6 separate regions of the Homo sapiens genome follow, and all the other regions are linked to region 3. The links are contacts of gene promoters, found by promoter capture Hi-C in blood cells and fetal thymus (Javierre and others, 2016). All regions are on one chromosome and are shown on one strand. Each heading gives the region's core, a stretch centred on a gene start or on the middle of the fragment in contact. The rest is flanking DNA. Distances are from core to core; before and after follow the strand shown. Region 1 overlaps MFHAS1 (multifunctional ROCO family signaling regulator 1). Region 2 holds the start of PPP1R3B (protein phosphatase 1 regulatory subunit 3B). Region 3 holds the start of LONRF1 (LON peptidase N-terminal domain and ring finger 1). Region 4 overlaps ERI1 (exoribonuclease 1). Region 5 overlaps LOC105379227 (a long non-coding RNA gene). Region 6 has its middle 6.3 kb from the start of TNKS.

Region 1 (4,609 bases), core at 1,773-4,272, 3.9 Mb after region 3:
GAAGAGTAGCATTGGTTATTCATTCTAACATCAGCCAGAGAGCCGCATGCCTCTGTAATCCCTAGGAATGTATTCCAGAACATCGATTTTCCCTGCTCTAAATCTTACCCTAATAGACCCTGCAATAAAGGCAAATTCGGATCTGACACAATTACCATTTTATTGTGGGCTGTTTAAGTTTCACTATATTTACTTTATGCTTTTTTGTGTGTGACACTACTCACTGACTGAAAATGCCATTTTTATTAAATTTGCATTAATGGAACACCGTAGTTTTTTTTTTTTTTTTTTTGAGGCAGGGTCTCACTCTGTCACCCAGGCTGGAGTGTGCAGTGGCACAGTCACAGCTCACTAAAGCCTTGACCTTCTGGGCTCCAGTGATCCTCCCACCTCAGCCTCCCCAGTAGTTGGGACTACAGGTACATGCCACCATGCCCAGTTAGTTTTTATATTTTTTATAGAGACAGGATTTTGCCACGTTGCCTGGGCTGGTCTCAAATTCCTGGGCTCCAGCAGTCCACTCACCTTGGCCTCTCAAAGTGCTGGGATTACAGGTGTGTGCCACTGCGCCCAGCCCTGGACCACCATGTCTTATGCACTTCATTTGTTGGACACCACTTACCGCACTATGACAGTGGTTTCATTTTTTTTCTTTTTTTTTTGACTGAGTCTTGCTCTGTCATGCAGGCTGGAGTGCAGTGGCATGATCTTGGCTCACTGCAACCTCTGCCTCCTGGGTTCAAGTGATTCTCTTACCTTAGCCTCCCGAGTAACTGGGACCACTATTTAGAAGAGTGATAAGTTTGTGGATAAAAAGTCTTTTCTTCATAGAAGAGGTGGAATACAGTATGATCTCTGTTCATATGAACACCTTATGCTCTTTTAAAAGTACTTTTTCCCCTTTATAAAAACTTATAGGCCAGGTGTGGTGGCTCACACCTGTAATCCCAGCACTTTGGGAGGCCGAGGCGGGAGGATCACGATGCATACACCACTATGCCCGGCTAATTTTTGTATTTTTAATAGAGACGGGGTTTCACCACGTTAGCCACACTGGTCTCGAACTGCTGACCTGAGGCAGTCTGCCTGCCTCATCCTCCCAAAGTGCTGGGATTATAGGCATGTGCCACCACGCCCGGCCGACAACAGTGGTTTCTTGCATCTTATCATCATTTGAGTTTGTCTTCCCTTGCCTGCCAACTTATCAAAGTTTCCTCAATTACATTTAATCAAATCCTAGGAAGTACAAGGTATTTTTAAGTCTTAGGTTATATTTTGTTTGTATTTGCTTTATAGATTGACTTGAAACAGTTGGGATTTTGTGTAGTTTTCAAATTGAAGCATTATAATATGGTGGTTAGTTGCAAGAGCTCTTGGAGTAGACTGCTGGGCTCTAATCCCTGTGCCACTGCTTCTTAGTTATGTGACTTTAGGCATCATAATAGTTTGTGTTGGTTCTGAAGATTGAGTTATATGTGTTAAATGCTTAGAACAATGCTTGACACCTGGCAAGAGCTCAGTAGGAGTTTGCTGCTGTTTCCACCATTCCAGAAGGTACAAGAGTCTAAACATACTTTTAGAAGAGTGATAAGTTTGTGGATCAAAACTCTTTTCTTCATAGAAGAGGTGGAATACAGTATGATCTCTGTTCATATGAACACCTTATGCTCTTTTAAAAATGCTTTTTCCCCTTTATAAAAACTTATAGGCCGGGCATGGTGGCTCACACCTGTAATGCCAGCACTTTGGGAGGCCGAGGCGGGCGGATCACGAGGTCACGAGTTCGAGAGCAGTCTGACATGGTGAAACCCCGTCTCTAGTAAAAAATTGCAAAAATTAGCTGAGCGTGGTGGCACGCACCTGTAATCCCAGCTACTCAGGAGGCTGAGGCAGGAGAATCGCTTGAACCCAGGAGGCAGAGGTTACGGTGAGCTGAGATCGTGCCACTGTACTCCAGCCTGGGTGACAGAGCGAGACTGACTCAAAAAAACATAAAAAATTTGGAGAGTAGAAGAAAAAAAAGTTTCTCATGGTGGGTATCTAAAGTAATCACTACACATTTTGCTCTGTGTCTTTTAGCTTTGTTTCCTCCTTAAGCTTAGGTTTTAAAAATATGTAGTTATAATTGTATAAATAATTCAAATATTGATTTTTTAAACTTATGCTAACATGGATATAATTTCCTGTGATTAGTATTTATACAGTAATTAAAAATGCTTGCATAATAGTACATCAAGGTGATTTTTCACCTTTGTTTATTTAACCTTGTGTTCTTTTTGTTTATCCAACCATTTGTGCTCTTGTTCCCAGTTTTTTTTGTGAGTGATTCTCTGATGACTGTATTTCTTTATAAAAACTCTTTTTTATTTGGGCAGTAATCCCCGAAGTAGAGTCATTGAGTCAAAGGCAAAAAATGTCATTAAATCTCAATGCACGTTTACGTTGCTTCCCATGAGGATGGGCACGTCAGATGCAAGATCTTTTTCACTGTACCTCCTCAACATTGGGTATCATCTATAAAATGCACTACCGTTTAATGGAAACAATATGTCACTGGTGACTGAAGATTTTAACTAGTGGATGTGAACGTTTTCTTGTATAAATGTTGCCTAATTGTGTTGCTTCTTTTCTGAATCCTCTAATAACATCTTCTGGCATCATCTTGGTGGTTTTTCTTTTTTTTTTTTTAATCACAGTGTTTTATCAGTTTATATTAACTCTTCATATATAAAAGATAACCTTTTGTCTATCATACTTAAGGCATTTTTTTCTAGCTTGTTCCCCTCTTTGCTTTAAAAACCTTTAACGTTTTGAAGTTTCAAATTTCATTCAGTATATTAATAGCTTCCTCTGTGATTTCTTCTAGAGCTTAAAAAAACCTCATAACATTTTTCTAAATACAGAGGTGACAGCGGGAATCACATAGTGATTCTTCACCCTTATAACTTTAACTGAAAATAAAAAAAGTGCTATCCATATGTGGATGGTAGATTCATTAGCAAAGCCCCCTTTTTCATAACCCCTCCCCAAACTGTCTCCTCTGTAAAATGTTTCTTGCTGATTTCTTCCAGGGAAAATAAAGCATGTATTTGCATATATTTTAACAGGAATGAGATCATGCTGTACTCCTTGTTCTGCACCTCGCATTTGATCACTTCAAAATATATTTTTGAGATGCCTCCATATGAACAGTTAGAACCCTGTTATAGAAGATTATTATGTGTGTGTGTGTGTGTGTGTGTGTGTGTGTGTGTGTGTGTGTAGAATGTTATAGTATATCCTACAAATATAGCATAGTAGTCTACCAATGGATGTATTGTTCAGTCACACCTATACCGGCAGACCTTTGATCCTTTCCAGATTGTTAAACTAAGTACGTTCTCCACCTTCCAGAGGTGTAAGAAATACTCAGTTTTATTTCCTTCAGGGTTAATAATCCCTCTCTGTGCTCGGAACACTCTTGAGATGCAATTAGAAAAAGACAAATCTCTAAATCAAAGTGGTGGGACCTAAAAAAAGCCTCGAGGGTTATGAAGGCTTCGCTTTGTGATTTGAAACAAGGTAATTTTTTTAAATTGGCTTTGGTGATGTGTATTGGAACACCATTGTTTTCAGCATAATTACGCATTTCACAGCTTAATTCAGCCATTACACGTGATGCAGTGTTTAGACATAGCAATAATTACAAATTGTACATGTTTACAGATAGATATACCGCTGATCAAAATAAAACAGTGGCAGCAAGAATGATGTTCTGTCCATGTAAGAAATCAATGAAATATAATTAAGAACGAACTGTATCTCATTGACTCAAAACATTGCATCTGCCTTTCTGTCCCATCTGTTTTCTAAACAAAAATCTTCCCGCGCTGCGTGGTTGTTTTTATTTGTATCCTAGAACCATCCTCTCGAGTTCCACACCGTTGTATTTTCTACACCTAAGCTTGGTGTGTTCTGCACAGGAAATGTTTCTTGGATGTTTTATCCTCATACCAAGTGGGAATTTAAAATTTAAGAGATTACCCACACTCTTTGCCTTTCTGTACATGTGATGAAGAAAGAGTGGGTGTAACCCAGCACTCTAAAATGTGTTTGACCTGTAAAAAAAAAAAAAAAAAGTAAGCAATTAAATCCTGTTATAGTTGCTTCTGTGTTTAAAACATACTTAATGACGTATATATTTATTTCAAGCTAACAAAGTCCCCAGTCAGGTTCTTGGGAGTTTTTTTCACAGGACTCATTGAAGTGTTTGGTCTTTAAAATCCTTCATTTCATGCTAACTGCCAAGTCAATGCAGACAGTATGGCCGAACAGAGCTGGTCACATTTTCCCTGAACATGCTATTAAAAAATATATTCACTGGGATTCTCTTGACTCATGGCATAGCTGAGGTGACTTTGATTCCGGAGGGCTATTGCTTATGAATTGCATGTGGAAGAACTAAAAATAGAAATGTGAATTTTCCAAAAGAACACTATGATACCAAAAATGGCTCACTGGCTTGCCTAGAGCTGGGCTGTTTTGTGCCCAAGGTACAGTAATAAGAACTGGGATGCAAAGCCCTGTAGGGTGCATCTGTCCCCTTCCCTGACACCCCTCACTCCCAGAT
Region 2 (5,206 bases), core at 791-3,290, 3.6 Mb after region 3:
AAATCTTCAACCTACTCATCACCTAACAAGAGAGGGTTTAAAGTTGGCAGAGGGAATATTGCACAGAAACGCTATTTGCCAACCACCTACCAATAGCTGACTTCACAAGTGGTCCCTTATCAGATCTGCCCATCAGAAAAGAAGGAAGAAGATTAATGATCATTCTTCAGACACCAGGACTCCCTCCGGGGAAGCTCTCTATAGAGCTAAAGGCTTGTATTGGATTATTGTCACCGATCACTGTTTTAGGCTTGCATTCCTAGTAAAATTGAAGCTGAGCCTGTATCCCTTACAGTAGAAACTCCCAAATGCCATATTCAACATAATGAGTTTTCAGAAAGCTAAATATATCCAATGGGAAAGACTGGCCATTACATCCTTCCTGCATTTCGTTGTTATTGCTATTAAAGTGTACTTTAAAAAATAAAAATAAAAGGATAGTAATAGAAGACAGCAGGGTTTATTTTCATGTCTTTCTTGGCAGTTTAAAAAGTTGGCAATCCTATATCAATTTCTAATTTTTTTCTAAAACTCTACTGGTCATTAAAATTAGAAAACTGGTAGCCTCATGCCTAAAGTGGCTAGTTCAGATCAAGTTACATGTAAACTGAAGAAAGGAAGAGCCTCTGATTCAAACTCTTTAAGGTCATCATTTTTTTCTTTTTCTAAGACCATTTTCTATAGATCTCAAGGTGCATAATATGCATCGCGGAGGCCCTGTAGATTTAGATAGCGATTATAACCGATTCAAGTCAGGAAATTTCTTCTGAAGTATACCTACCTGTGAAACCCTCCATATCTGGGGCGCTCTGTGCCACGGGTGTCAGACTTTTGCAAAAGCCCTGTCATTCTAACGGGACGCCCTCCTGTAGGAAGTTGCCCCCTGGCGCCCGTCCTCCGGCTTCTGATGAAACGGCGACCCACCACCCCCTTCCCAGACCCTGGCCCGCAGCCGGATCACTCCGGGCGCGCTGCCGATCACGTGGCGAAGCGGTGCTCCCCAGCGCCGTGGCTGCGCGCCCATTGGTCGGCGGCTGGAGTCCCGGGCGCGCCCATTGGCTGCGGGGGGCGTTCACGTGGCAGGGGGCCTGGGATGGACCCCGGGGTCCCGAGAGCTGGCAGGAAAGTTAAAGGGGGCAGCGCGGCCGCGGGGAGCTCGAGTCCCGGGTGACTGCTGGAGGGAGGAGGTGACCGCGCAGCTCTCGTGCACGGACGGACTTCGCCGCCCGCGGGGGGCGCGAACCCGAGCCCGGGCCCAGCTCCTGCCGTCACGGCAGCTGTCCCTGTTCCCCCAGGGCGTATGCTGCCGCGGGCTGGCGCGTCTGCCCTCGGGACTTATGAGCTGAACCCGGTACGTAGCTCCCCAAGTCTCGAGTCCGAGGGAAGGGCTGGGGACAACAAGGCGAGGGCGTGCAGCGGGGACCTCTTTGGGTTCCTGTCACCTACATTTTCACCGTGCGACTTGCACTGGCACACCGGGGCTGGAACACTCTAGGTAGCTGGCCCCAGGGAGCTGTTGCTTCAGCGTGGAGAGGGCGATCCAGGGACCGCAGCTGGGAAGCGCCTCCCGGGCCCACGTGCTCCACCGCGCTGCTGGGCCCGGCTGCGACCGTGACCCGGGAGCTGCGGCTGCGGCGGCTGATCCCTTTACCACCTGTTGTTCTGGCTTCGAAACTAGCACAAGTTCCCAGCCCCGGGTCCCGAGAGGTCTGGAGACTTCTCCAAAGTTGGGTAGTGGGGTTTGGAGCTTAAGGACAAGCCGCTTCGTCTCTCTCCGGGCCTTATTTTCCCTATAAAACGCGAGGAAATACACTTGGTAGGCTCTCAGGCCACCGAGGGCGACGGGACCTAGCACGATCCCCGTCCCGGGCTGGCGGAGGCCAGGCGGCCGCGCGGGGGTGCTGGTGTCGCGCTGCTTGCTCCGGCCGGGGTTGCCCCTTTGCCGGCCCCGCCCGGGTGCGATAACGGGCTCCTCCTCCTCGTCGTCTTCCTCCCACCGCCGACATCTCCGGGAACCCAGCCCAGGCCCTGCCTCCCGGACACACCGACGCTCACGTAGTCGCGCTTGCCACAACCCTGCGGGCTCTCCGATGCGGCGAGCGAGCTGGGGAGGGGGCTTCTCCGCGGCCCAAAAGGTGGGTGCGGCGCGAGGCCAAGGAGGCTTGTAGGGAGGTTGGGGGCGGAGTGCAGCCCTGGTCAAACTGGACGGAGGGGACAGAGTCGGAGAGTAACTTGTGGGATCCTCCAGCCTGGAGAGCACTGGCCTGCTCCTGCGTCTCTTTGGAATCCAGAAAAAGGGGTGTGGAAGGCACAGTAGCTGCAAAAGAGGGAGTGGGGGCCGGTAATGACTTACTGGAAGATTTGGGGCCTGTCAGAGCACTGTTTTCTGAAAAAGAGGAGAAAACAGAGGAAAGACTGGACTTGGGAACTTGGAGACTTGGAAGGTGTTGGAACCTGTGGTCTGAGTGGCGGGGGCCTGCCTGGGAGACCCAGGGTGCAGCAGAAGAGACAATTAGAGCTTTGGTCTGGGAGGAAGAGGAGGAGAGGAGGAAATGTTTCCTTGGGCAGAGTTGTCCAGGAGCCAAAACTAAAGTGAAGACAGCTGGAGGACTTACACAAAAGTACAGTTGAGGTATTTAGGAAAAAAAGTTAGTGGGAAGAGAAGCGGCACCAGGGGTGGGTCGCAACATACAATGTCAGGGCCAGCAGGGACCTTGGAGGGGACCTCAAGCCCAGAGCAGCTGAGTGACTCGCTCAAGTAGCAAAGCAAGGTGCGGGCATTCTTAGCCTAGTACTCTGTTTTCCCTCGTACGTTTTTAGACGGCAGGGGCTGTGTCATTTGAACTTGCCTCTTTCCTAGAATATGCAACTGTATTCACAAATGTCAGTCTCCAAGATGCTTTGGATGATGGGGACAGGATCAAGGGGTACAAGGAGCCTTTAAGGCTGTGAATAGGCCCCCATGGTCTGAGTACAAAGGGGAAAGACATGCACTCTCTTCATGCTGGATCAGTGAAACCTTTTGGAAGGGAACACAGAATTGTTGGAGGGAGGTAGATGGCCATGTCTTTAAAAATGAAAATTATAACCTGGTTGTGAATGTTTACTGAATGCAGTTCGGCAGCTTTCAGTGTTCCTGGTGGGTTGCTTGTGCATCTGATTTTTTTGTTTGTTTGGTTTTGTTTGTTTGTTTTGAGACGGAGTGTCGCTCTGTCGCCCAGGCTGGAGTGCAGTGGCGCCATCTCTGGCTCATTGTAAGCTCCGCCTCCCGGGTTCACGCCATTCTCCTGCCTCGGCCTCCTGAGTAGCTGGGACTACAGGCGCCCGCCACCACGCCCAGCTAATTTTTATTTGTATTTTTAGTAGAGACGGGGTTTCACCGTGTTAGCCAGGATGGTGTCGATCTCCTGACCTCGTGATCTGCCCGCCTCGGCCTCCCAAAGTGCTGGGATTACAGGCGTGAGCCACCACGCCCGGCCTTTTTTTGCCTTTTTTTTTTTTTTTTGAGACGTAGTTTCGCTCTGTCGCCCAGGCTGGACTGCAGTGGCGCCATCTCGGCTCACTGCAAGCTCCGCCTCCCGGGTTCGCGCCATTCTCCTGCCTCGGCCTCCTGAGTAGCTGGGACTACAGGCGCCCGCCGCCACGCCCGGCTAATTTTTTTTTTTTGTATTTTTAGTAGAGACGGGGTTTCACCGTGTTCGCCAGGATGGTCTCGATCTCCTGATCTCGTGATCCGCCCGCCTCGGCCTCCCAAAGTGCTGGGATTACAGGCGTGAGCCACCACGCCCGGCCTTTTTGTCTTTTCTTACCAGAAGAAAGAGAGAGAGAGAATAAGAGAATGGAGGGGATAATGTCGTGGCCCTGATACAAAAAAGATTTCCTCCCTATGAAAGGTACAGCCAGAAAGTCAGTAGTTCAGCTGCCTGAAACCGTGAAGGTCATAGGGTTATTTTCTGTGCAGGTCTATAGTTATCACCATGGCCGTCTAACCTTGGCCAGCTGTCTTGAGAAGGTGTGTTATGAGTGGAACAGATAAAGCATTTATGCAAAACTATCTCCATGATCTGTTAGGGTTTGCCCTGTCTTAGCCATGAACACTGTAATCTACCCTCAAGCATGGCCCAGTCTCTCACCAGAGAAACTGATCCCTGAGCTCTGAGGCATCTCTATGGAAGCAAGTGTTTGAGAATTCATACCTACCTGGGAGCAGCACTCATACACTCATTCCTATCCTGCAACTGGTATCAGATCCTGAGTCCTGCTCTCATGGTTCAAATGTATGTCCATAACTTCTGGTTCTTTTTTTTTCCCCCTTGGCCAACTTTGGTGACTCATATTCCCTGGCCTGGGAAAAGGACAGAGCTGGAGCAGCCAGAGAGTCTGTCAGGAGAGGAGGCTGGGCTGCAGCCTGGTGCTTCCTGTGTTGGAACCGATCATTTTCATGTCATTTGTAAAAGAAGCACCTGTCCAGGTGCCTTCTTTTCAGGAACTTAATATTACCTTGCACATCTCAGTTGCTAGGAGTACTTCTGCATGGCGGCAGCCATCCCTGTCACAGTCCGCTGGGGAGTTCCTGAGCAGTTCAGGAAAGCCTACACCAAACCAGCACTTTGGTGTGCTGATTCTTGGAGAATGACCTGGTAAATAAAATCTGGAAGCTATCTGTGGGACAGGCAAGGTGACTGACAGTCGAGTCATACCCCAGATTGAGGCCACACAGGTTAATGTCCTCACCTGCAGTTATGGTGACACACAAAGTGAAGGGATTCTAGACTGGGGTTGCTTGTGCAATGTCCCTGGGGTAGTAGTCCTGCGGGTAACTCTTGAGCCATCATAACCTTACTTTTGCCTTTCATGGAAGAATCTTGTAATAGCAGTTTGGCTCCTTCAAGTGCCAGCAGCATTGTTTAATTAGCTCTGGCTCTGACTAGAGCCTGGCCTCTCCAAGCCGGACTTCTGCTTGTTCTTACAGCTTGGTGATAAAAAGGGATCTCAGGGACAAATTTATGCCACTGGGGTGAAACAGTGAAACTCTACCAAGGTCTTCAGCTAAGTCTCTTCAGCCTGCGGGATTAGAACTTGGGACATTGGCTCTAGTGGGCTGTGTGTAGATTCTTTGATTGATCCTTTTGCTTTGGCTGTTTCCACAATATCTTGAGAGTTTCCAAGGCTTTTCCTAACATGCAGAAAAAGCACGTAGGAGGCT
Region 3 (4,625 bases), core at 249-2,748:
GCTTCCCATGCCAAATGCTTAGGAGGTGCTCCTTGGATCTAGCTGCAATTTGCTTCAGGTGCAATGTGAGTGATAAATGAACTTGTTTCTGTCTGCATCCTGTTGGAACAGGAGGCTTGGCTTTTTCTCAGGCACCTCTTTTTTATTCATTCCCTTTAGGGTAATATAACTCTGTCTTTTCTGACGTTACACGACTTGTTGATTGTGTAGTGAAAACACATGAACTCAAAACATTTTTTAGCCTTAATTGCCTGTTCCTTATAAAGAGAAATATTAAACGTTTACCAATTTCATACATAGCATGCTCAGGTGAACTTTCCAATTAGCAACTTCTTTTACTTTGAAAATCTCATATATTTCTATGAAATATTACATATTTTATTAAATATTACATATTAGTCTAACGTAGTAGTAGTGGAATAGACGTGATCTTAAAATCTGTATTAGCTGTGTGATTTTTGACAAATAACTTTCCCTGTGTTTCCAATCATTTGAAAAAGGACTAAAAGTCCTAAGTGACTTCCAACATTAGCGATCTAATACCCTATCATCAAATCTGTATTTTCAGCTGAGAGCTTTAAACTTGCTGCTGTGAAGTTTAAGGGAAATAGCACCCATTATATATCAACCCGATCATTTTCTTCTGTCAGCAAAACTGCAGAGCCAGCTTGGGTTGTAGTAATACGGTGACCGCCATGTGAAACATGTTTCTTGGTGTTTTCTTTTAAAACTGCCAAATATAGACCTTAACCAGCTGTAAGGCAGTGCTTGAGGTGTGGAGACACCTGAGGAAGCTGTGGGCTTTCTCCCTCGAGGTGGGCCCACGATGAGTTTTAAGCAAGACGGGCAAGCAGTCACCTGGCACCAGGAAAAACTCCTTGCCCTCTGGAGGGAGTCGCCCCAGGAACGTGGGTTTTTTGTTCATATTTAAAGTTGAGTCCTCTAGAACCGAAGAGTCCCAGTCATCTGCCGAAGGTGCGCTCCCAGGCCCCCTGCTTGGGCGCGCCCACCTGGAACATGGGCGTAGAGCTATGAAAATGCAGACCCGCACAAGCGCGAGGCCACGCGGGGAGACCCCCGCCCGCCAGGAGTTGGGGCAGGTCCGGCCTGGGCGGGGGCGTCGGGGGAGGGGTGGTGACCCGGAGTCCCGCGCGGCAGGGGAGCGTCCCCCAACCCCCGGCAGGGGCGAGGGCCACCGCAGGTGGCGGCGTTGGCAGACAGGCAAGCGGGGACTGAAGCTCCGGGGTCCTTCCGGCTTTGTTCCGTCACGAGCCGAGCCCTCCTTTCCGGAGAAGCCAATTAGATCTCCGACGGAGGAATCATCCGACCTGCGTCCCCCACCCGGAGGGGGCTCGGAAGGGGCGGGGCCCAGCGCTTGGCTCCTCGGGAGCGCGGCCGCGGGCGGCGTGGGGGAGTCCCGGGCGCCGTCGCCGAGCCCGGCCCCGCCCTCGCCAGGCCCCGCCCTCGGGGCTTCCCGGGCGCGCGCAGCCCCGCCGTGTCCGCGCGCCACGCCCCCCTGCTCGCGGGCCGCGTGCGGAGCCGCGCGCCCGGGAGGCTCCGGGACCGTGGCGGCGGGCGGCGGCGGCGCAGCCCTCCGCGGGCCATGTCCTCTCCGGCGGTGGCGAGGACCTCCCCAGGAGGGAGTCGGGAGATGGCCCCAGCGCCGCAGGGCCGAGGCCGGTTCTGGGAAGTGGGCGGCGGCAGCGGCCATCGGCTGGAGCGCGCGGCCGCGGAGTCGGAGCGCTGGGAGCTGCTGCTCCGCCGCGGGGAGCTGCTGGCGCTGGGCGGCCACCTGAAGGGCGCGCTGGAGGCGTTCGCGGCGGCGCTGCGCCGCGGGGCCCCGGCCAGGCCCGAGTGCCTGGGCGCCCTGGTGGACTGCCTGGTGTTCAACTACCGGCTCCGCCACGGGCTGGGCTGGAGCGCGGCCCCGGTTGCAGGCGCTGACGGCGGCGCCGGCGGGCTCCTCAGATGCCTGGGCTGCCGGGGCTTCCTGAGCGAGCCGGTGACCGTGCCCTGTGGCCACAGCTACTGCCGCCGCTGCCTGCGGAGGGAACTCCGCGCCCGCTGCCGCCTCTGCCGGGACCGGCTGCCGCCCGCCACCGCCAGTGCCACTGATGCTGAAGGGACCGCCCCGCGGCCGCCGCCTCTGGCCGCCGCCATCGCCGCTTCAGACTTCAGAACCAGCGTCGTCCTCAACCACCTGGCCGAGAAGTGGTTTCCGGGCCAGCGCGAGCGGGCCCGGGCGGCCGGCAGGCTCGGGGAGCTACTGCACCAGGGGCGCTACCGGGAGGCCCTGGCCGCCGCCTGCGAGGCGCTGCGAGCAGGTGACCGCGCGGGGATGCGGCGGGGCCGGGCCGACCGCACCCTCCTGGCCCCGAGGGCCGGGGACCCGGAGCTTGTCTGCGCCCCGAGAGTCTCCTCTGCTTCCCCGGGGCCGCTGGGCCGCTGGCGTGTCGGGTCTCGGGGTGCTGGGGGGTGTGGGAGGGGGCGGCGCCCCGGGGTGCTTCGGTCATAATGGGGATCGCCCTGGGAGCCGACTGTGACGCGGCGCGGGGAGGGGCGCTCGGCGCGGGGTTCCCTCGGCCGCGGCCTGGCTGTCGGGCGCGCGCTCCCGGCGCGGAGTGGGTGACCTGGACCGAGGCCGCCCCGGCGCGGGATGGGTGGTAGCTGGGCTATCCCGAGCGGCCGCTCGCTTCCTGCCGCGCGCTTTCCGGGAATTGGCTCTCGGGCCGGGCCCGCCGCGGGGAAACGACTGCCGGGGCGGGGAGAGAATCCCCCGCGAGGGCAACTAGGCCGGGCAGGCGGCGTCTCCCTTCCTCACCCACAAAAGTCACCGGGACAATTGGGAACCGCGGGAGGGCAGAATTGCATAAGCTGGGGGCGGGGGGCGTTGTGTAACGGGTGACGTCCGGTGGGCGTGGCGGGAGCTCCGCGCGGGCGCCCGGCCCCGGGAGGCCCTGCAGGCCGCCGGGCTTGGGGCTTGGGGCGGAGCTGCCCAGGGTGGTCCCTTGCTACCTGGAAATGCCTGAACTGGTTCCTCTTGAAAGTTTCAGCTGGCCTGTTTCAGATCCTGCTTATTTCCTATGTACTTTGCAGTGCACCTAGCTTATGGTAAAGATGAGAGGGGCTGCCTGATCCATAGTTCTCTGCCACGCTTCTCCTGGCCTTTCCACTTAGGATCAGGCTGTGGGGAAAGGCCTTATAGGTCTTGAGTGCATTTCTTAGTCTCCAAGAAGCAGCCTCGGCCTCCTAACCTAGGTTAGCACTTTCTTCTTAAGGTGGTTTTAGGCGCTGAAAGGGGGCAGTTTCAAGCTTCTCTTACGTAAAAGGAAGAGTTGTTCTATATAAATCAGTAGTTCTCTACCAGGGGGATTTTATCTCCCCTCTCTCAGGGGGCATTATTTAGAACAATATCTGGAGAGATTTTTGGTTGCCACCTCTTGTGGGGGTGGTGCTGGTACCGACATCTAGTGGGAGAGGCTGGGGTGCTGCTCAGACATCCTACTAGGCACAGCAGGATTCCCACAACAAAGAATTATCAGGCCCCAAGTGCCACTGTTGATAAACCTTGTGTTACGCGTATTTCAAGATCTTAGTGTCTATCCATTGGCATGAAATGATAGGGGAATAATCCCCAAGAAAACAGACATCTAGAATAGCAACTGACTTTAGGTATTACAGGTAAATTTATAGACTGTGTAACTGAAAGGATCATCTTTCGGGTCATCTTTTGTCCCAAGTGCTTAGTCATATTGAACTAATGTCAAGATCTTGTGTTGTTTAGTATCTTTAGAGTTCGAAGCACAAACCCCGGAGATTTTTGTATTCTTTCAGTGCCTTCGTGAGGAGTAGGCAGGTATAAAATAGAAAGGTAGGCTCAGAACAAAAAAAAAGTATTTGGAATACAGAATTCTGATACACATGACTCTGCTTCTCTGGGTGAATAAAGAGAAGAGAAACTGGACTCAGTTGTACAGACCACCTAGTAACTGACCATGGTGTGATTTTTAAAGCGAGGAAGCAGATGCCAGGCAGTGAAGACTTGCACACCGTCACACTGTTAACTGGTAGAGAGGCAGTGCTGTATCTTCCGCTTCTCCTAAACGTTGGTCTAGGGTTCATCCTGCCTTATAGCACATGTTTAGTATACATATCCAAGGAAGTTTTTTTGGTCACTGAGGCTGAACCTTATGGACAGTACTGCTGATTTAGTGATCTGACCTTGAATTAGGGGTTTCACAAGAATCCAGGTCCTGGTCCATGGAAGAACAGTGAGCACTTTTGATAATTGAGGTCTAGCTTAACATTCTGTGACCAATAATATTTTAGTTAACAGAGATTCTGGTTCTTGGATCGAGGATATTATGTTTAACAGGAAAAGGCTCTGAAAGATGTAATCTCTCTTTTTTTCAAGTTGCATAGATTGCACATGAGGATTTTGCCCACTTAGCAACTTCATTCTACTTTTGCAGGAATAGAACCCAAGTCTTCTGACTTTCACTGCATTAGCTTATTTTTTCCTCATTTTTAGTTCTTTCAAGAATCATTAATTCCATGCTTGAAAATGTCTGAATGGCACTAATGAGGATAAGTTTTTTAATCTTTTGAATTCTTAATGTGAACTA
Region 4 (4,432 bases), core at 1,387-3,886, 3.7 Mb after region 3:
TGAAAAATATAACATGTTTTTGTGTAGTGGGAGCAATATAGACAAAAGCAATAAATCATAATGTCCAAATGAGGGAGAACTGCTACAGTAACGTCCTTGAGTAAGAGAGAAGTAAAATCTAGTGACTTATGCAAGATTATTTGCCTTCATAGCTGCCATTTTTCCTTCTAATTTACTGACCTTCAATCTGCTTTGGATAAGAAAATTATAGAAATAGGCTAAGACTATAACTAAAAGAGATTTTGAATAGCACTAATAACCTATGCATTTTAATTCACAAAACCTTTTTATACTTACTCCCAAGTGGGTTGGTAGCAACTGAGGATATCACAGAAGTGACTTTTGGAAAGTTGAGATGTTAGGATATTCTTGCTCAGATTTTATAAGGTAAACAGTATTATTTTAGGGAATTCCTACTAGACTTTCTTAACTAATAAAGCACTGACAAGTATCTAAAGCACACATATTATTTGGCTTAGAAACCAGGGTTATATGAGTCATTTCACCCTTAAACTTTCCACCAGAGAGAGAGGTTCAAAAGTCATTTTTGTAAATTATCATTCTTAGAGATCAGAGTTCACACTAGGCCACAGTGGTGGTTATCAAGCCTGACCGCATATTAAAACCAACTGAAAAGCTTCAAAAAAATGCTGATGTCAGAGGCCCTATCAGAGAACTAAATTAGAATCTCTGGGACTAGGGCCAGGCATCAGTATCATTAGTGTTTTCTTTATTTTTTTACTTACCAGGAGATTCTGATGTCCACACCCAGATGTTCTAAGCAAATGGAAAACAACATTTTAACTTCCGCTACTGCAAAAAGAAAGCAGTAGTCTCTAAAATTGCTTTGTTACAGCTTTTCTATTAATCAAGCTGATATAAAGTTCATGGCAAAGAAAAAACTTACTTTAGAAGTCTAATTCTGGCTAAAAAGCAAATGAGGTCCTCCACATAACCAGTAAACACCAGAATAGTTGCTGCTAGAAATACAATTAAAATACAAAAATTCACTTACTATTTCTAAAGTATGCGTATTCAGTAAAACAACCGGAAATTCAATTATTTCATGTACAAACTCAGGTGGGTTTCCTTCTTCACAAGTGGCTTCAAAGTCAATAATACAAATGTAGTCATAATAACTGTCAGCAAAATTGCTCTCTTTCAGCATCAGCTTCTGCTTCTTATAATAGTTTTTCAGTCTCTTCTTTAGAACATCCTTTACTCCTCTAAGTAGAAGAAGAAGACTAGTTACACTTAGGTAAATTCTACAGTCAAGAATCAAAACTCTCACCTGCTGGCACTGGGCTGAACACTGACAATCACAGCGAAATTTAGCAAATGCTAGCTAAAATAAATGTAAGAAAAGCAAGACTCAAAGCTAAGTTAGCAAAGAACTAATTAAAATAATATGTTTATTACAACATTAACATTTTCCTTCACAAGTCTTTTTTTATTTTAGTAGTATATAACAGTATTTTCTCCAACATATACTGGTACTTCAAACCATAAACACTGTCAGCATATACTACCAACACAGTCGTCATACTGCCTTATATACTAAGATAACATATATGATACAAACATTGAAATTAATATAAAATTATTCCACTGGCCAAAATATAAACTTAAGAATATAAAAATTTGGGTTAAGTTGAAAATATCGTATTATCTCTTTCCTTTCTTTTGGCTTTTGTAGGTTAGTCAACTCAAAAGATTCATATGAATATGAAAGCATTATGAGCCTAGCATATAAAGGTGAATGTCTGTTGGCTACTTAACAAGGAAAACTCAATTAGAATACACTCTAAGTAAACTGTCCAAAGGAGCATTATCACACTAGTAGGTTCTTAACTAGAAATAAGTTTCTTAATTTATCATGGGTAGAATATGATTTAGGGGATTTCAATATTATAGGTAGCTTTAAAATATACATTCCACAAATGGAGTAGTGGGGAGGAGAGAAAGGTCATCCTAACAGATAACAGTGATCAGGTGACTTCATTCTTTAAACAATATGTATTTTTCCAAAAAATTAAGTTGCAACCAGCATTCAGGCTTCCTTCAGCGTTATATAAATGAATCCTATATTGGCCTGCAAATATGAAATGGAAGTAAAAATAAAAAGATCTAAATTATAATTAATGTGTAGTGCCAAGTAAAGTATCATGTTAACTGATTAATGACTATTTAAAAAAAACCTTTTTAGTCTTTTATTTTCCTTTCTAAAATACAATTAAGCACTGAAAAAAATCCTACCCATGAAAATAGTAATAATCAACCAGTTAGCTTTTTTAAGATGAAATGTCTTAATATTGTTTCTTTGCTTGAGATTTTCAAAATTATCAAGACCTACGGAGAAAATCCTTAACCTCTTTCATATTAAGGCACTGTGAGTGACCTCTGTGTCATGTGACAGCTTTGGATTACTTTCTTTTTTTATCTTTTTATTGGTTGTTATTGTTGTGGGGTGGGAGGTGTGATAGGGGGAGAGACTACATTTACCAGAGTTGTCTGCAAAGCTAATGGCAGGACAAACATACAACTAGTTGCTCTGGATAGAAACCTGCTATCTTTAACATCTCCTTTGCTCTTCCAAATATTCACCATGTTTGTCAATTCTAACTCAGAAACATATTCAGAATATGATTCTCTCTAATTCTTTCTGCTATGGCTCTCATTAGCTTCGTTGAGCATGGCAAATGCCTCCATTACCACAACACTTCGATTCATTCTTTACTTTACTTGAGAACTGAGCACTAACACCAATTTTCTGCTTAAATATCTTCAGTGGCTCCCTTCTGCTTACGAGGTAAAATGCAGACTTCAGCATAGAGTTCCTTCACAACTTGGCTACAACCTATCATTTCACTATCATTGTCACATGTTCCTGAGGTATACTGTGTACTGCAGACAAAATATACTATAAGCCATGGCCTCAACCAGCCAGATGGCTCACGTCTATAATCTCAGCACTTTGGGAGGGGGGTGAATCACTTGAGCTGGAGCTCGAGACCAGCCTGGGCAACATGGAGAAACCCTATCTTCACTAAAAATACAAAAATTAGCCAGGCATGGTGGTGCATGCCTGTAATCCGAGCTACTCAGGAGGCTGAGGCACGAGAATCGCTTGAATCCAGGAGTCGGAGGTTGCAGTGAGCCGAGATCACACCACTGCACTCCAGCCTGGCGACAGAGCAAGACTCTGTCTCAAAAAAATAAAAAATAAAAGGCATGTTCTCAATACACTTTTATGTCCTATAACTTTGGTTGCACAACAGGTGAAGAAAAGGCAAGATCATGTTGCAGAAACCATACAAACTGGAATTAGAAAAGTTTCTGTTATTTTTTTGCCTGAAATACCCTCCCCCTCCCTTTTCTGTTTGGCACAATTCAAATGTCATCTTTCTGAATTCCTGAGAAATATTCTCCTCTGTATTCTCATGCTGTACCTGGCCAGACCTCCAATATAGCATTGGCCACTCTGTATTGTGATGATTTCTTTGTATGTTTTCCCAAAAGACTGAGATTGCCAAAGTGGGGAACATATCTGTATTTACCTTTATAACTTCAATGCCTAGTGCAGTACTTAGAATTCAATACAGGCTTGTTGAATAAACGTATAAACATACATCTAGATCGCTAGCTCCCACGCAAGCCAGGAGTAAGCAACTGATCTTCACACCTGGGAAGGACAAAAATTTTGCTCGGAAAATCTTCTGTAGGCTACAAGTTGTACCTTCATAACAGAAAGAATCGGGGAAATAGGAGTCAAAAATTTCTTCATACATTATGATGTAGACAATCTAGAAATTAATAAATTTGTGCTCTTTTGAAGAGTGGTGAAACTCTAAAGAGGAAGAATACTACTATTAAGAGAATTATGATTCAGAGATGTCTTGAAAAAGGAAGAGTTTTTACCTATTTCATACAGGCAATTTTTTTTCTTGATGCCTGGCAGTTCTACCGTTTATCAAAAATCGATGTATTTTTCTGGACTCCAAAAGCCATTTCTGCCCCATGGCCCAATGAACGTAAAGTGATTTGTTTCGCAAAAAATTACTAAAAACTTAGGTATGTGTATATCTCATTAAAATACACATACAGTTGACTAAGTTGCATTGTTTTCTCACTCAATATACAGTGAAACATAATGCAAACGATCATTGTAGATTATTTTTTAGAAATTAAAACAAAAAATATTCCTGTTAAGTGAATGTTTTTAATTTATTGTACCTGATTTCAAACAAACTCTTTTTATAAAAGATACAAATGGCAAAAAGAAAATAAAAAATACTCTATCTCACTAATATAACTATCCATCATTTAAATGAGCAACTAAAAAAATTTAAAACACTCTTGTCATAATAAGACAGAGACTCCTATACATTGCCGGTAGGTCATTAAAATATTTGACTTTGATTCAGCAGTCCTA
Region 5 (4,613 bases), core at 2,076-4,575, 3.8 Mb after region 3:
TAATGGTGCTGTGCTGATTTCATGGGAAATGTGTATAAAGCTTTTCTATTTAGTTTAATGGTTTCTGCAAGTTACAAAGTCTTTTCCTTCAGTCATTTAAAAACATTATTTTCTTCCTGTATCCTATGTTTATTTGAAAAGTGTAATGTTGATATGATTCTTGCTCGTCTATGGATAATCTGTTCTTTCTCTCTGGAGTCTGCAAATTTTCTTTTTGTCATTGATGTTCTTAAATTTCATTGTAATAGATCTAGGTGAGGATTCTCCTTTTTTTCTATAATAAAAAACATAATTTTTTGTATTTTTAGTAGAGATGGGGTTTCACCATGTTGGCTAGGCTGGTCTTGAACTCCTGACCTCAGGTGATCCACCTGCCTTGGCATCCCAAAGTGCTGGGATTACAGGCGTGAACCACCATGCCGGCCACCTCATTTTAATTTAATCACTTCTTTAAAGACCTAATCTCCTGCCAACTGAAGAATGACAAGGTTCATAAGTATAGAAAAGAGAGCTTTATTTCTCATAAAGGGTTGGGGTTATGCATCCTTGCAGGCTGCCATTCTGATAGGCTGGGAAGTGTAGCCTCCAGCCAGAAGCCAGAAATAGGCACCTTAAGGGAAGGAAGCATAAGACAGGAATGTATGCTGAGCATAGTGGCCAAATATACATATTTAATAAGTAATAGGAGGAATCATTAATGTTTATGAAAGGAGAAGCATGCATGTGCACTTGAGCTTCATACCTCTTCATGGGTCACATGTACACAAATGGCAGCATTAGCATAATCTGAGTGTGGAGTTTTCAGCCTTCTGACATCAGAAGGTGAAGCAGAGGACCGAAAATCCTCTGTGCATTCTCTATAGACTGGCCAGAGCATCTCCATCATCAACGGTCTCTGATAAGGAAGGTATGCATTGTGAAACTGGCGAGCTGTCATGTCGAAACTGTAAAGAGGGAAGGGAAGTCTCGTCATGGCCTCAGACAATTGGCTAATAGTGATAATAGAGTAAGTCATCGGCTCTTGTCTTCCACAGCTGATTCCTGTTTACTTCTTAGGAAAGATTCTGGTTAAAGGTTAATAAGGAAGGGGCAGACTGAGGCATGTCTGACCTCCTGTCCTGAGATGACCTGGAACTCTGTTTTAAGGTTTCTCTGGGGTCTTCTTGGCTGGAATGGGGTCCATTCAGAAGTTTGGGGGGTTTAGGAATTTTTTTTTTATTTTTATTTTATTTTTTTTTGAGACAGAGCCTCACTTTGTCACCCAGGCTGGAGTGCAGTTGCACAATCTTGGCTCACAGCAACCTTCACCTCCCGGGTTCAAACAATTCTCCTGCCTCTGCCTCCTGAGTAGCTGGGATTACAGGTGTGTACCACCAAGCCTAGGTAATTTTTTTTGTATTTTTAGTAGAGGTAGGTTTGGCCATGTTGCCCAGGCTGGTCTCAAATGCCTGACCTCAGGTGATCCGCCTGCCTTGGCCTCCGAAAGTGCTAAGATCACAGGTGTGAGCTGCCACACGTGGCCTTAGGGGATTTAGGATTTTATTTTTATTTCTCACTCTAAATATGGGTACATTCTGAGGTACTGGGGGTTAGGTCTTCAACACATAAATTTAGGGGGACACAACTCACCCCATTACATTTGGCATTTACATTCTATTGCAGAGCTATCATTTCACATTTGATTTAGTTTATTTCTCATGTTTTGGCTTATTACCTCGCTGGCTTAGTTTCAACAGCCCCTTATCATAACTTCTCATAGCTTCTGTGGTTCACTATCATAAATCCCTTGCCAACATCCCAACCTTTTTCCCTGCGAAAACCCGCCATGATCATAAATCTATTTTCCTTCTTCATGCTTTCTCTGAGTTCTGAGAGAGGCCTTAGAGATCATACAATGGCCAGATCAGTGATGTGAAGAATTAATGACCACCTGCTCCACCTGGGTGCTAATCCTCCTTGGCAGCCGTCATATTTCTCTCCTTGTCTTGTCTTCCCTCTCTCCACAACTTCTGCAGCAAACCTTCTTTGCTCTCACCTCCAACCTTCCATCTCCTTTCCCATGTACTCTCACCAGACAACCTTGCCTCCTGCTTCACAAAGAAAACAGTTTTAGCTTTTTACTGCCAAGTCTACATGCTCACATCTGGTCGTGTCTTTGTTTATTATGTTGATTTTTGTTCATCATACATTTCTTACATTAATTTTGATGTACTAAGAGATTGATGCCTGTAATCCTAGCACTTTGGGAGGCCGAGGCGGGAGGATCGCTAAAGGCCAGGGGTTTCGGACCAGCCTGGCCAAGATGGCGAAATTCCTTCTCTACTAAAAATACAAAAATTAGCTGGCATGGTGGAGCATGCTTGTAATCCCAGCTACTTGGGAGACTGAGGCACAAGAATCGCTTGAACCTGGGAGGCAGACGTTGCAGTGAGCTGAGATCGCACCCCTGCACTCCAGCCTGGGCGACAGAGCAAGATGCTGTCTCAAAAAAAAAAATTACACTAAAGTGTTTATCTTAATTACTGATTTTGGGGGGATGCCTCCTTAAATTTTGTGCCTAAAGTGAGTGCCTCCGACGCCTCACCTGAGTCCTAGCCCCGCCCCACCTGAGTCCTAGCCCCGCCCCTTTCAGCCACTCCTCCCTCCCACCTTCATTTTCTGGTTTGATACCACCACTCGCTCCCTCAATTCCCCTCCTCTCCTACCTTCCCAGCAATCTTGAATTTTGTATTATCCAATCTCTGTTCTGTATCTTCAGTGTTTTCCTCATCAGTAGACCTTTCCCTTTGGCATTTAAATGAGCTTGACTCAAAATTTTCCAACTTAAATAGCCCTCCAGCCAAACAAAACACCTCCTTCAACCTCAGAATTCCTATGGCTGCCGCACTATCTTTTCTCCCGCCCCCTTTGGTGCTAAACTTCTTGAAAGAATTGTCGCTTTTTTCACACATCTACCCACTATTCAACCTACCCTAATTTCTCTTCCACCCCCATGGTCCACTGACATCTACTTCTCCACTGAGGTCACTAGTTATCCCCGTGTGGTTGAACCCAGTAGCCTCTTATCAAAGCTCATCTGACTTGATCCTTCAACAGCATCCAGCGTTGCTAACTTTCTTTGTTTGTTTTTGTTTTTTGAGACGGAGTCTTGCTCTGTCGCCCAGGCTGGAGTGCAGTGGCGCTATCTCGGCTCACTGCAAGCTCCGCCTCCCGGGTTCACGCTATTCTCCTGCCTCAGCCTCCCAAGTAGCTCGGACTACAGGCGCCCACCACCACGCCTGGCTAATTTTTTGTATTTTTTAGTAGAGACGGGGTTTCACCTAGTTAGCCAGGATGGTCTCCATCTCCTGACCTCGTGAACCGCCCACCTCAGCCTCCCAAAGTGCTTGGGTTACAGGCGTGAGCCACCACGCCCGGCTGACTATTCTTTATTTACTGCAACACTCTTTTCCTTTGGTCTCCATGACAGCACACTCGCCTGCTTCCTTCCTTTTTCTCTGGCCATTTCTTCTCAATCTCCCTGATCAGTTCCCCCTCTTATATCCAATCATTTAATTCCGGAATTCCTTCAGGACTTGGATCTTAGGCCCTGTTCATAACTTTTATATTCTTTTCAAAGTATAGATTCTTGCTCTAGGTATTCTATGCATTCATCTAGCTTTATTTACCATCCAGTAGCCAATGACTCCAAAACCTGTTTCTACCCACGATCTTAACTCAGAGCACCAGAGCCACATAACGACTTGCCTATTCACAAACACCACAAACTTGACATATCCAAGGTGAAATCATCATCTTCCTCCCCAAACCAGCCACTTCTCTAGTGTTTCTGTTTTTCTTTTTTCTTTTTGTTTTTTTTTGTTTGTTTGTTTGAGGCAGGATGTCCCTCTGTCGCCCAGGCTGGAAGTGCAGTAGCGCAATGATTGCTCAAGTGACCCTCCTACCTCAGCCTCCCGACTAGCTGGGACTACAACCGCTCACCACCACACCCGGCTGATTTTTGTATTTTTTAGTAGAGGCAGGGTTTTGCCATATTGCCCAGGCTGGTCTCCAGCTCCTGGACTGAAGCAATCCTCCCACTTCGATCTCCCAAGGTATTGGGATTACAGGCGTGAACCACCATGCCCAGAATGGTGTTTCTTTTCTCAGTAAATAGCTCTACAATCCACGCAGTTGATTGGGCCAAAAATATGGGCATCACTTTTGACTTTTTTAAATCTTTTCCTTCCTTAATGCCTTCAGGATGATCTGTGTTATATTTTTGTCTCCTGATTTAGCACAAACTACCTTTTTTCTCTTTCCATTCTTCTTTTAGTACCTCCACACACCATGCCGGTTCCCATTTCAGAACTTTTGTTAGCTAATTTCATTCATTGTTTAGGTCAGAGATTCAATTTCCCTTCCTCCAGGATTTTCCCCCCAAACTCCCAGATTTTGTTACATCTCACCCTTTGTGGAATCTGCCTCCTTTCTTGGCATGTTTTCTTTTGTTTAGGATAAAGATTTGAAAAAAAGAAGAAAAGACCAGTGGCAATGGTTCACACCTGTAATCCCAGCACTTTGGGAGGCTGAGGCGAGAGGATAACTTGAAGCCAAGAGTTTGAGACCAGCCC
Region 6 (4,560 bases), core at 687-3,186, 3.2 Mb after region 3:
CTATGGTCTGTACGCTCATGGGTAGTCGGTTTAATTTGAAGTGTTAGTTCCAGGCAGAGAGTTAGTTCCGGGCAGAGAGGTGGTTAAAGGTGTGGATTCCACATACAGACTGCTTGGATATGAATCCTAGCTTTGTCACTAACTAGCTTCGTATGATTAAAGGATATTACATCATACATTTTAACAGGAATAAATAAAAATCTATTTGCTGTGCTTTAAAAAAAGAAGATAAACAAGTTTTCCCACCAAAAATGTTCCTTTCCTTGTAAGCTTTTTTTCCAAAAGTAATTAAAATCATACATGTATACCCCATTACGGATTTGCATATGACTATATCACTCAAAAGAGATAAACACCTGCCCTCCCCCAAAGTCATAACCATGTTTAGAAAAGGCTCAGAAAGTCCTGAAATGCATGGATATGGAAGGGTATAACTAGCCAACAACGCATATATAATGATGTAATGGCTTATGCAGATGGATATAGCTAACCAGAATAGAGCTGATGCAACTGCAAACCAAGAGACTGCAAGGCACCCAGAGGACTCACCCTCCCCAATCAGAACATGGGGACAACCCACCAAGCCATGATGAATGTGGATTCCCGCCACTGCTTGAGGGGTCGTGACTACCACATACTGACCGTGAGGTGACTCCAACCAATGGCAAAGATTGGGGCAAAGACATCTGCCAGCAGAGACCATCAGAAATACCGGCTGAGAATGAGTGGCAGCCCAGGCAGTGAGAGGCATTAATCAATCCCCAAACATGTGGTATGTGCCTTCCACCCACTATCTCCTTTTACTTGCTTGCTGTTGTTACTTGGCTTGTTGAAAGAAGGAAATGAATGAAAGCTGTTTAAGTGGTGTATGTGTGTAACTTCTCTTGGTATTACCTATTCCTCCATATCCTGAACCTAGGTCTTTTGATGCTGAGTTGCTCAGAAAAAAATACTGTACAATCCAGGATAAGTCATTTAACCTCTGGTATGGTTTGGCTGTGTCCCCACTCAAATCTCATCTTGAATTATAGTTCCCCAGTCCCCACATGTCATGGGAGGGACCTCGTAGAAGGTAATTTAGTCATGGGGATGGTTACCCTCATGCTGTTCTCATGATAATGAGTGCGTTCTCATGAGATCTGATGGTTTTATAAGGGGCGTTTCCCCATTTTGCTCTGCATTTCTCCTTGCTGCCACCATGTGAAGAAGGACATGTTTGCTTCCCCTTCTGCCATCATTGTAGGTTTCCTGAGGCCTCCCCAGCCCTGTGGAACGGTGAGTCAATTAAACCTCTTTCCTTTATACATTACCCAGTCTCTGGTATGTCCGTGTAGCAGTGTGAGAACAAACTAACACAACCTCTTTGTAAACTCACCTGCAAAGTAGAGACACGAAGTAGAGACATTAATAGTTGTTCTGAGAAATTAGTAAGTTAATATATGCCAAGTGCAATAAACAGTTTCTGGCATGTGATAAATGGAATGTAAGTGTCAGCTTTTATTGTTATCAAGAACAGGGATGGGATATACTTTGTATAAAGGTCACCTAAGAGACACTAGTCTTGTCTGCCCAACAACAAGCAGGTCTCCTTTTACTCAATATTGTTGTTATTTGGCTTCCCATGCATGCTGCTGCTTTTGCTTTACAGTGTCTTAAAGGAAGGTCTAATAAGCTTGGAAATGAAAAGGGACTCTTATATTAAGGGAAATGCAAATAGTCCCTTCTGGCTGTGGTCAGGATTTAGGAGAGATAGAAACTCTACAAAGGAAGGCACCTCAGCCTGAGGTAGGCAGGTTTCTCTCAAACATATTCCTCCCTGCAGTGCTGAGAAACCATCTCTGTTGTGTGGAAAACCACCACAGCTGCCAAGACCACCTCAAGAGAAACCAACACAGCCATAATTCCTGAAGTCAGTGTGGTCCAGGATGTTTGCAGAAGGAACATCCCACAGAAGATGAATTTACAACCTTGAATCACCACACATGAGAGAGGGCCAACAACATGAGAGAAAAAACAGAAAACCTAAAAAAATCAAAGACTACAGATAATACAGCAATCTACAATGTATTTTTATATCCACATTTAAGGTGGGCAGAATAATGGCACCTCAAAGATACTCAAGTCCAAATCTCTGGAAGCTGCAGATATGTTACTTTATGTGGCAAAGTGGAATGAACATCGAAGATGGAATTTAAGCTTGCTAATCAACAGACTTTAGAACAGGGAGACTTTCCTGGATTATGTGAGTGGGCCTAATGTAATCATCAGCATCCTTATAGGTACAAAAGGGAGACACAGAAGGAGGTTGAAAGTAATACCATGTGAAGACTCAACCAGTCAGTGCTGGCTTTGAAGGTGATGGAAGAATCCACAAGCCAAGGAATGTGAGCAGTCTCTGGAAGTTGCAAAAGAAAAGGAAACAGATTCTTCCCTAGAGCCCCCAGAAAATAACTCAATCCTGCTAACACCTTGATTTTAGCCCAATGGTACCAATGCCAGATTTATGACTGCAGAACTGTAAAATATATTTGTGTTAAGCTACTATGTTTGTGATAATTTGTTACAGCAGCAAAAGAAAACTAATACATGCCCTCTTTGGAAAATCAGGTGATATGAAGCCATCAGCCTATTTTTATACAGGACAATAGACTGAAGTGGCATAGTTTCTGCCACTTGGTATTACCAGAGGGCAATTATTCTCCATCGTTCCTTTTGTTCATGTACATCTTTCTGGCTTTACTCAGTTAAGAGGCTGGGTATACTAGTCCCCTATAGCTGCTATAACAAATGACCACAGACTTAGTGCCTTGAAACGGTACAATACAAATGTATTCTCCTACGGTTCTGGGGCAGAAGTTTGGAATCAGTTTCACTGGGCTAAAGTCAAGGCATCGGCAATGTTGGCATCTTATGAGGACTTTGGGGAGAATTTTCTTCTGAGAGCTTTGAGGGGAGAATCTCTTTCCTTGACTTTTTCAGCTTCTAGTGGCTGCCTGTAGTCTTTGGCTTGTGACCTTTTCCTACGTCCTAAAAGCACATCACTCATCTCTGGTTCCATCCCATCATCTTCTGTTTGACTCTCCCTACTCCTACTGCACTCTTAAAAGGACCATTGTGGTCAGGCGTGGTGGGCCCACGCCTGTAATCCCAGCACTGTGAGAGGCCAAGGTGAGAGCATCACTTGAGCCCAGGAGTTTGAGACCAGCCTGGGCAACATGGCGAAATCCTGTGTCCTGAAAAATACAAAAATTAGCCAGGCATGGTGGTGCACCCCTGCAGTTCCAGCTACTTGGGAGGCTGACATGGGAGGATCACCTGAGCCTGGGGAAGTAGATGCTGCAGTGAGCCAAGATCACGCAGCTGGACTCCAGCCTGGGCGACAGAGTGAGACCCTGTCTCCAAAAATGACGGTGACATTGGACCCACCCAGATAATCCAGGATAATGTCCCATCTCAAAATCCTTAATCACATCTACAAAGTCCCTTTTGCCATATAAGGTAGCGTTTATGGGTTTCAGGGGTGAGGATGTGGACATATTCAAGGGCCCACTATTCAGACTACTACAATGAGATGCCATGGCATGCCTTATATGAAGAGGAGAGAGATGCCTGTTCTAGGGGGCAAATTTGGGTTGGTTTAGCACATGGAAAGACAAAGCAGATGATAAAGCACCATATCCAGTCAGAGAGCTGTAATAGGGTCAATGCTGTCCCTGTGGATAATTTAATCCACTAGGACTCTGACCACCTTTTTCTTCCACAAGACATCACACTGGTCCATTACATTGATGATGACATTATGCCGATTAGATCTAGTGAGCAAGAAGTAGCAACTATGCTAGAGTCATTGGTAAAACATTTACATAATAATAGAGGGTGAGAAGTGAGTCCAACAAAAATGTGGAGACTTCTACCCCAGTGAAGTTTCTAGGGGTCCAGGGTTGTGGAGCATGTCAAGATATCTCTTGTAACATGAAGGAAAAGTTGCATATGTCCCTTTCTTCAACTCAAAAAGAGTCGAACCCTTTTAGTGAAACTCTGAGGATTTTGGGGGCAACATATTCCTCAATAGAATGTGTGACTCCAGCCTATTTACTGAGTAACCCCCAAAAGCTGCTAGTTTTGGGTCCAGAGCAAGAGAAGGCTCTGCAACAGATGCAGGCTGTCATGCAAGGTGCTCTGCCACATGGGCTGTGTGATCCAGCAGATATAATGGCGCTTGAGGTGTCAGTGGCAGAGCGGGATGCTGTTTGCACCTTTGGCAGGCCCCTCTAGGTGAATCACAGTGCAGCTGCTTGGGATTTTGGAGCAAAGCCCTGCCATCCTCTGTGGATAACTACTCTCCTTTCGAGAAATTTGCTTGCTATTAGGCTTTCAGTACTAGAGACTGAACACCTACCCATGATCACCAAGTTACCATGAGACCTGCACTGCCCATCATGAGCTGAGTATTGTCTGACCCGCCAAGCCATGAAGTTGTGCATCCACAGCAATACTCCATCATCAAATGGAAGTGACAGTTATGAGATTAGGCTCAACAGGCCCTGAGGGCACAAGTAA

Evidence for each region. The method cuts DNA at HindIII sites, captures the fragments that hold promoters and counts their contacts. A CHiCAGO score of 5 or more calls a contact.
Region 1: a fragment that was not itself captured here is called in contact with the fragment with the promoter of LONRF1 in region 3 in 1 of 17 cell types (naive CD8 T cells); the score reaches 6.5 in naive CD8 T cells.
Region 2: the fragment with the promoter of PPP1R3B here is called in contact with the fragment with the promoter of LONRF1 in region 3 in 1 of 17 cell types (naive CD8 T cells); the score reaches 5.1 in naive CD8 T cells.
Region 4: a fragment that was not itself captured here is called in contact with the fragment with the promoter of LONRF1 in region 3 in 1 of 17 cell types (naive CD8 T cells); the score reaches 6.9 in naive CD8 T cells.
Region 5: a contact is called between a fragment that was not itself captured here and the fragment with the promoter of LONRF1 in region 3, in 1 of 17 cell types (monocytes). The highest score is 5.7, in monocytes.
Region 6: a contact is called between a fragment that was not itself captured here and the fragment with the promoter of LONRF1 in region 3, in 1 of 17 cell types (naive CD8 T cells). The highest score is 8.8, in naive CD8 T cells.

What each region holds. Positions count from the first base shown.
Region 1 is chr8:8,872,985-8,877,593 of GRCh38, reverse strand. All of the region lies in intron 1 of MFHAS1 (multifunctional ROCO family signaling regulator 1), which reads left to right. Among named protein-coding and RNA genes, the nearest start is that of MFHAS1, 18 kb to the left of the region's middle. The HindIII fragment of the contact is 1,846 bases long and covers 2,100-3,945 here.
Region 2 is chr8:9,147,492-9,152,697 of GRCh38, reverse strand. PPP1R3B (protein phosphatase 1 regulatory subunit 3B) reads left to right here and starts at 2,040. Exons shown (of 2, transcript NM_024607.4): 1 at 2,040-2,135. PPP1R3B-DT (PPP1R3B divergent transcript) reads right to left here and starts at 973. Exons shown (of 5, transcript NR_183348.1): 1 at 782-973. RefSeq lists silencers at 1,036-1,285, 1,786-2,055 and enhancers at 1,406-1,645, 1,692-2,640. The HindIII fragment of the contact is 22,346 bases long and covers 1-5,206 here.
Region 3 is chr8:12,752,399-12,757,023 of GRCh38, reverse strand. LONRF1 (LON peptidase N-terminal domain and ring finger 1) reads left to right here and starts at 1,498. Exons shown (of 12, transcript NM_152271.5): 1 at 1,498-2,324. The coding sequence starts at 1,604. RefSeq lists silencers at 1,000-1,669, 1,750-2,089, 2,093-2,283, 2,180-2,719, 2,770-2,849 and 1 more and an enhancer at 1,205-2,024. The HindIII fragment of the contact is 11,195 bases long and covers 1-3,314 here.
Region 4 is chr8:9,008,336-9,012,767 of GRCh38, reverse strand. ERI1 (exoribonuclease 1) reads right to left here. Exons shown (of 7, transcript NM_153332.4): 3 at 1,016-1,226. Among named protein-coding and RNA genes, the nearest start is that of ERI1, 7.7 kb to the right of the region's middle. The HindIII fragment of the contact is 3,993 bases long and covers 640-4,432 here.
Region 5 is chr8:8,991,572-8,996,184 of GRCh38, reverse strand. All of the region lies in intron 2 of LOC105379227 (a long non-coding RNA gene), which reads left to right. Among named protein-coding and RNA genes, the nearest start is that of ERI1, 9.0 kb to the left of the region's middle. The HindIII fragment of the contact is 6,566 bases long and covers 43-4,613 here.
Region 6 is chr8:9,547,327-9,551,886 of GRCh38, reverse strand. No RefSeq gene overlaps it. Among named protein-coding and RNA genes, the nearest start is that of TNKS, 6.3 kb to the left of the region's middle. The HindIII fragment of the contact is 524 bases long and covers 1,675-2,198 here.